2 separate regions of the Homo sapiens genome follow, and region 2 is linked to region 1. The links are contacts of gene promoters, found by promoter capture Hi-C in human tissues and cell types (Jung and others, 2019). All regions are on one chromosome and are shown on one strand. The core of a region is centred on a gene start or on the middle of the fragment in contact, and the rest is flanking DNA. Distances in the headings are between cores, read along the strand shown. Region 1 holds the start of ZNRF1 (zinc and ring finger 1). Region 2 overlaps PSMD7 (proteasome 26S subunit, non-ATPase 7).

What was found. The method cuts DNA at HindIII sites, captures the fragments that hold promoters and counts their contacts. A contact is called where the count stands out against the background at its distance.
Region 2: a fragment that was not itself captured here is called in contact with the fragment with the promoter of ZNRF1 in region 1 in 1 of the 25 tissues and cell types used here (dorsolateral prefrontal cortex).

What each region holds. Positions count from the first base shown.
Region 1 is chr16:74,997,774-75,001,787 of GRCh38, forward strand. It overlaps ZNRF1 (zinc and ring finger 1), which reads left to right and starts at 1,251. Exons shown (of 5, transcript NM_032268.5): 1 at 1,251-2,322. The coding sequence starts at 1,899. RefSeq lists silencers at 1,043-1,562, 1,963-2,272 and an enhancer at 3,063-3,122. The HindIII fragment of the contact is 18,053 bases long and covers 1-4,014 here.
Region 2 is chr16:74,301,626-74,305,639 of GRCh38, forward strand. It overlaps PSMD7 (proteasome 26S subunit, non-ATPase 7), which reads left to right. Exons shown (of 7, transcript NM_002811.5): 4 at 1-27; 5 at 587-667; 6 at 2,678-2,769; 7 at 3,664-4,014. Among named protein-coding and RNA genes, the nearest start is that of PSMD7, 6.8 kb to the left of the region's middle. The HindIII fragment of the contact is 3,140 bases long and covers 361-3,500 here.

The sequences.
Region 1 (4,014 bases), core at 1-2,500:
AGCCTGGGAGGAGCAAGGCTCCGTCTCAAAAAAAAAAAAAAAGAAAAGAAAAAAAAGAAAAAGAAAAACAGGGCGGGCGCGGTGGCTCATGCCTGTAATCCTAACACTTTGGGAGGCCAAGGCAGGTGGATTACCTGAGGTCAGGAGTTCAAGACCAGCCTGGCCAATACGGTGAAACCCCGCCTCTACTAAAAATACAAAAAATTAGCCAGGTGCAGTGTGGCATGTGCCTGTAATCCCAGCTACTCGGGAGGCTGAGGCAGGAGAATCACTTGAATCCGGGAGGCGGAGGTTGCGGTGAGCCGAGGTTACGCCACACCACTCCAGCCTGGGTGACAGGGCGAGATTACGTCTCAAAAACAAAAACAAAACAAAACAAAAAAAACAGTTGTTCAATAAATGAATGTGAATATAGGAGAAAGACGGCTTGAGGTAGCAAAGGAACACTCCCTTGCAAATGATTCAGGCTTGGTCAACAATACACCTATTGAGTACCCACCGTGTCCTTGGCCCGTGGTGAGGGCCGAAACACAGCACATGGTAAACAAAACAGGGCTCCAGCCTTGGACAGAAGGTTTCTATAATCACTTCTAGCTGCGTTGTTCTATTTCCATACCCATATCTATTCACTTTTTATGGTACATCTATTGATTCTGAAAATTACATTTTAGCTAAGGAATCTACTCATTTGCTTAAGCCCAAAATAGGAAGTTATGATCTAGTGTCAGCAAAACGCCGGATTCACAAGTGTCCCCATGGCGCTGTTTACCCCCAAATAACTAAACCCCGCCAAATGTTGAGATTCCGGACGTGAGGGGTGCTTGGATGGGGAACCCCCGAAAGAATGGACATCACGTCCACCAGAGGGTGCTGTGGGGGCAAATTTGTGCCAGGAGGGGAGCTCGACCGGTGACCCTCAGAGCCAGGTAGGCGTAAGGAGTAAATCTCCTTCTTCCCGGTGTTTCCTTCCCACCCCCTCGAACCATTGCTGCCCCTCCCCCATACTTGGTTCCCCCTGAATAATTTGCCACTTTCGGGGACTTAAGAAGTGTTTGCTTTTGAAAGACATCTGGTTTCTGTGGCTAACGCCCAGTGGTCAGGCCGCCCAGGTCACAGGCCGGCCGGGGGCGGGCGGTGGGTGGGGACTGCTGGGGCGTCAGCGGCCCAGGCGCCGCAGGGACCGCGAAAGGGTTAACCCGGCGGGGGGAGGGGGAGGGGGCGCGGGCCGCGCCTGCGCTCTGCCGCCCTCCATTGTCTCCACGGCGGCGAGGAGCGCCGGCGAGCGCAGCCCGGGACCGAGCGGGGCGGCGCGGCTGGCGGGGCCGGCGGCGGCTGAAGCGAGAGCGCGACGCGACGCGACCGCGGCTTCCCGAGCTGCGCCTGGCCGCCCAGCGCCGCGGCCCGCCCGAGGCCTGGAGGGGTCCGGGCCGCCGTCCATGGTCGCGGCGTCCTGAGGCGGGGGACGCGCCCGGCGCCCCCGGCCCTCCTCCGCCTCCTCCCGCGGGGCGGGCGGCCTCCTCCGGCGCCTCCCCGCGCCCGCCCGCCGCTCGCCGCCGCCTCCCTCCCTCCTTCCCTGCGGCTCCCCCGGCTTTCGGAGCCCGGGGGCGGCCTGTGGCGCGCGGAGCCCGCGCCGGACTGCGCCTCTTTGGACCTTGAGGGGAAACATGCGTTTGCCTTGGATCGTTTGAAATTCTGAGTTTGGGATCCCCGCCCGCCCGCCTGCCTCTTCCGCCCCGCGGGTTTTTTCCTTTTTTCCTTTTGCTTTTTTTCCTTTTCTCCCTCCGGGTCTCCTTTTTGACTCCCTCCCCCTTTATGCTCGCCCAGCCCTCCCCCTGCTGCTGAGAAGTGGGGGAGGGTCTCGGCCTCCAGGTTCCCGCCCCACCGGGGCCCGGGCGAGCATGGGGGGCAAGCAGAGCACGGCGGCCCGCTCCCGGGGCCCCTTCCCGGGGGTCTCCACCGATGACAGCGCCGTGCCGCCGCCGGGAGGGGCGCCCCATTTCGGGCACTACCGGACGGGCGGCGGGGCCATGGGGCTGCGCAGCCGCTCGGTCAGCTCGGTGGCAGGCATGGGCATGGACCCCAGCACGGCCGGGGGGGTGCCCTTTGGCCTCTACACCCCCGCCTCCCGGGGCACCGGCGACTCCGAGAGGGCGCCCGGCGGCGGAGGGTCTGCGTCCGACTCCACCTATGCCCATGGCAATGGTTACCAGGAGACGGGCGGCGGTCACCATAGAGACGGGATGCTGTACCTGGGCTCCCGAGCCTCGCTGGCGGATGCTCTACCTCTGCACATCGCACCCAGGTGGTTCAGCTCGCATAGTGGTGAGTCCGCGGGTGGTGGAGGCCTCGGAGGGAGGGCGCGCCGGGGCGCCCCAAGCCTTCGCGTGCGTGCCAAGGTTTGGGAATGTAGTGCACGACCGGGATCTGTCTGCATTCCCTTTGGTTCCCGATGCCAAGGGATAAATGGGATACCTACCGTCTGGAAACTAGGCTTTCTGCGAGGCTGCGGAGCCTGGCGATTTAGGGACTCACGGCGTGTGTTCACTTGTGGAAGGGCAGAGCGAAGCCTACCTATTGGAGTTCCATTTATTGGCATCACCCTCCTCAGAGAAGAGGTCGTGTCTGGCTGAGAGCAAGTCAGCCTGGGTACTTCCATTCTGCCACTGCAGCACTGTGCCTGCCTCACCGGTAACGGAGAGATGGAGCCAGTTGGAGCAAGCAGTGTCTCCTAAACAGAGTGTGTGAAAATGAAATAAAATCAGGGGCAAGTGATGCCTGGATTAGGGCTCTCACTCTTGCTGGGAGAGAGAGGTGCCCAGTTTTGCCACCCTGCTGGAGATCTGTTTGAAATGTTTAAAATGGAGCAGCCGGCAGGCGGCTGGCATAGACAGGTGTGGCTGCTGTACGGAGGGCCCAGCCGGCGAGTCTCGCGGGGGCTTTGCAGGACCCGGGCTGTGGTCACCCGTACTGCATGCAGCAGGCTTGGCTCCGCGACTCTCGCCTCCCTCCATCTTTTTTTCTTCTGCTCCATGCTAAGTGCTTGGTCTTCCCGTGAATCTGCATCTTTTTGTAACAGGGAGCCTGTCACGGTGGGGCATTATTGCCTGGCTGTTGGCACATGACTGGGGAAAAGGAGGATTCAGAGAATCTGGATGAATTCATTTTATGAACTTCTGGTGACAGGCCAGCAAAAGGTTGGAGGGGGATTTCCCAGGCTCCTAGCGGGAGGGCAAAAAAGGCCTGGCAGGAGGAAAACAGGTCTGTCTGCTAGGTCAGGCATCTAGAAAATTGGCCAAAAGGGATGTGGGGGCCGCTATTTGCTAATTGGCAAGTTGAGTGATGAAGTTACATCTTAAGATTCTTTTGGGTGAGTTGGGAAAATTTAGATAGTGTAGGGGAAAGATTGCTCCTGCCTTTAGGGTACTTTATGGAGGGTAATATCTGTTGGATCACTCTTTTAACTACTGTGAAATAGGGTTGACTTTTGGGGTATCTCTTTCCCCCCCCCTGCAAATAGCCTGGGGTTTGTTTTCATTTGGTTTGGTTTTTTGTCAATTCTGTAAACTTTAATTTGTGAAATAGTGTTGGGGGAGAAACGATTAGTGACTAATTTAGGGTAACACTTAGAAGTAGCTTGTGAATTGTTAGGATGATATTTTAATCTCTGACAGACCTCCGGATATCATTGGAGCTTTTCTGACCTCATGGAACTCTGCCCTGAGTGAGAAGCAGGACATGATTGCCTTTGGCTCTTTCAGGCATTTGATCAAAATTAGGCATTTTGAAATTAATAATTTTTCCTATGGAATTTAGTCCAGAGAGTTAGCCATATTTTTGAGATGACTAGTTTGGTGTTTAAAAGAACTGTAATGAGCATCTGGTTTTGAACTTAAAAGTACTGTAAGAAGTTTCTCTAAAATCACAGAATTTTTTGTGTTGAAAAACATATGAGATATGTAGGGAGGAAGAAAGGGAGTGCTTTTTTTGCTAAAATTTCTTAAGCCTCTTACTAAA
Region 2 (4,014 bases), core at 681-3,180, 700 kb before region 1:
CTCATGAAAAGATACTGTCCTAATTCCGTAAGTGGTGTCTATTTTTAAAACTCTTGAATGATTTTTTTTGCCAGCCAGCTCAAGTAAGAGCATCCTGGGAAGAATTTGAGTAGCAAATCTGCTTACTGCTTTATCTCCATAAACTTCTGTTGATTTGTAGTGCTCTGTGAAGTATACTGTGACCTAATATATTTGATAAATAATAGTTTATACCTGCTAAGTACCAGGTGTATGAGTTTCGTAATCCTCTCGGTAACTGTATATCCTCTTTACAAATGAGAAAACTGAGGTTCAGAATGGTTAGGAAGGTCTGGTAAGGGGTGGGACTGGGATTGAAATTTTGGCTGTGTTGACTCTAATGTCCTTGTGCTAGGCACTGTACTGCCCCTCAGCTTATTAATGAAGGGGATCGAAAAGCAGAAGAAATGATGAGATCATTTGAAGCATAAATGCATTTTTGCTGAATATTCTGGTTCATTTCTAATTGATTACAAGAAATAGCTTTAGTAATTGTGAGAAGAATGCCTGAAATTACCCCTTTTGTGCTGGGCGTGAGATGACTTGCTAAGATGTGTTTCTCTGCCAGGTATTGGTCATCATTGATGTGAAGCCGAAGGACCTAGGGCTGCCTACAGAAGCGTACATTTCAGTGGAAGAAGTCCATGATGTAAGTCATCTTGCTATGAACCTGGGAGGTTAGACTGCTACTTATTGGGTGATTAGCTTTTTTTTTTCAATTTTCAGGTCAACAAATCCTTTGTCTCCGTAACAAAAGAAGGTAGTTTTTTTCCCTTTGACTTTTTTAATCACCACATTTTGGAAATGGAGAGGAACATAGAAATCTAAATTCCAACCAGGCACAGTGGCTCACCCAGTGCTTTGAGAGGCCGAGGTGGGAGGATTGCCTAAGCCTAGGAGTTGAAGACCAGCCTGGGCAACATAGCAAGACACCTACAAAAATAAAAACATTAGCCAGGCATGATGGTCCATGCCTGTATTCCAAGCTACTCAGGAGGCTGAGACGGGAATATTGTTTGAGCCCAGGAGTTCAAGGTTACAGTGAGCAATGATCACACCACTGCATTCCAACCTGTGCGACAGTTGAGACGCTGTCCCCCAAAAAACCAAGAAATCCAAATTCCCCTTTTACAAATGAAAAGTTTAAGGGATGAATTACGGTCTCCTTTTGAATTTAGATATGCAGTATTTATCCTTACTTTCAGTTTTAAGATTTAGAAAAGGGTATTTTAGGATAGCTCTGTGCAAATGTTCCTTGCATCGAGCTCTGTCTTCCTGGGGCTTTTCTCTTTGCCTGGCTACCAGGGAGCTTAGAGCCAAATGTATTGCCTAATTGCAGTAGGGCTTTCATCCCTGGTTTTGACCCAGTTGTTTTTAGTGAATTTTTCTCCTGCCTCTTTAGAAAAGGAATTGAGGTTGCTCGTACACATGCACCCCAGTGAAGCAAGGTGTTTTTAGTAGGGGATAAAGGGGACATATGGGTCATGTTACAAGGTGAAGCTCAAGAAGAATTAGTGCCTGTAAAGGTTACCAAGAAATCCCACAACACTGTTAAAGGTTCTGACCATCCTGGCATCCAAAGCAAAGAGGAGAATGCCCCTTGCAGGATTAACACTATCCTAAATAAAATAATCACGGCTAACTTTTATAGTACTTAGTGTGAGTTGAGTGACTTTCCCAAGGTCTTGGAGCTCGCCTATTACATACATGGCAGAGCCAAATTTGAACCCAGGTAGCCTGGCTGTGGAGCCTGTACTCTTACCACTATGCTGTCCTTCCTCCCTTACAGACAGTTTACAGCCTTTTGACAGGAGACGTACAGCCTCTTCTGGCACAAGGTCTGAGAAAAGTATCTTCGAAGTCCCTTCAGGATGTCACTGGGTGACCACCATGAACCATGTCCCCAATGGATCCTTTGATTAATTCAGACCACCAGAAAGCCAACTATTCTGATTGCATTGGTTTGGGCACTGTGGAATCGTTTGATCCAAGAGACAAAAAAGGGCTAAAAGTTTTATTTTCTGGCATGAACTTGCTTCAGTACAGATATTCTGTATATTGTCCATTCTAGAAAGAACTATATACTTTTTTTTTTTTTAAGACAATCTCACTCTGTTGCTCAGGTTGGAGTGCAGTGGCGTGATCTCGACTCACTGCACCCTCCACCTCCCAGGTTCAAGTGATTCTCGTTCCTCAGCCTCCAGAGTAGCTGGGATTACAGGCGCCCGCCACCACACCTGGCTAGTTTTTGTATTTTTAGTAGAGAGGGGTTTTCGCCATGTTGCCCAGGCTGGTCTCGAATTCTTGGCGTACCAAAGTGCTGAGATTACAGGTCCGTGCCTGGCCAAAGCGGTATACTTTTAAGAATCAACCTGAGACCTCCCTGTGCGTTCATGCCAAGTGTGGGCTTGAGGGAATTTCCAGATTTTTCTCAACGCACAGTGCCCCAGCAGACTGCATCACTGAGCAGCACCACAGTGATGTTAGCTTTGAAGGCTAAGCTTTCAAAGTAAGCCTTACCCACCCTTGCCATAGAAAATTCTCAGTCATGCACTCATTAAATGAGCTGACTTAAAGCAAAAGACTCAGGGTGCGAAAAGGAACACATGTCAGTTCGTTTGTGGAAAATAAATAATTATAGTTAGGCTTCCTCTCCCAGGATGGAACTCCAACCTCGAAAACATTTGAACACGTGACCAGTGAAATTGGAGCAGAGGAAGCTGAGGAAGTTGGAGTTGAACACTTGTTACGGTGAGACCCTAGTACAGCATCAAAATCATTCACTGCCCGAGAGGTCACACAGTGTAAGGAAGAGGTCTGTGTCGGGAATATGGAGACCTGGGGTCTCGTCCTGGCCGTCCACTAACAAGTCTGCCATTCTGAGCAAATCACAGTCCCTTTCCAGACCTTTGTTTTATTGTCTGTAAATTGAAGTGTTTGAACTACATCAACTGTAAAATGTCTTGAGTTACAATTTATGACTTTGTGGATAGCATACCTTGTCTGGAAACTATAATGTTGACTGACGGGAAGAGAGGTATGAAATAAATGCAGGCCTGCACTCTCCACTAGGTGTCCTTCTCAACAAATGTAGCCCATTTTCTGGAGAGAATCTTCATCTTGGAGTAGCTTTTGTTTTAAAATCCTATATCTATTATAATCCTTATTTGAAAAAGGTTATAGTTTTATCAGTCAATGAGGTTCCTTCTAGTTCTAAAAATTACCATCTTAGTTAAGCTTCTCAATATTCTGGAGATGCATGTAGAGAAAATGCCATCCTTTTAGGAACAGGAAAGCTGAGAGAGACAGCTTCAGTACAAGGTTACCCAGAAAGTTATTGGTAGATCTGAACTGTTGACCTAAGCAATTTTTTTTTCCTTAAGTGGAAATGGTTTTATTTTAGCTCCCTTTTATAATTGTTTTTTGAAAAATGTCCTGTGATGAGAAAGATAAAATGTGTTCCAAATGATAACGAAATTAAGGTAATTGATAACGAAATCTTTATCAAATGGGGAAGTGACATTTTTCTTTTAAAAACTTGCCTCACCCAACAAAGCTAGGAATTTTCTTAGAATGTAAGAACTTGCCTGATAACATGGTACCCTGATGCCTTTTCCTGCCCTTTTTAACTGTGGGTTATTACAGAGATATCAAAGACACGACGGTGGGCACTCTGTCCCAGCGGATCACAAACCAGGTCCATGGTTTGAAGGGACTGAACTCCAAGCTTCTGGATATCAGGAGCTACCTGGAAAAAGTCGCCACAGGCAAGCTGCCCATCAACCACCAGATCATCTACCAGCTGCAGGACGTCTTCAACCTGCTGCCAGATGTCAGCCTGCAGGAGTTCGTCAAGGCCTTTTACCTGAAGACCAATGACCAGATGGTGGTAGTGTACTTGGCCTCGCTGATCCGTTCCGTGGTCGCCCTGCACAACCTCATCAACAACAAGATTGCCAACCGGGATGCAGAGAAGAAAGAAGGGCAGGAGAAAGA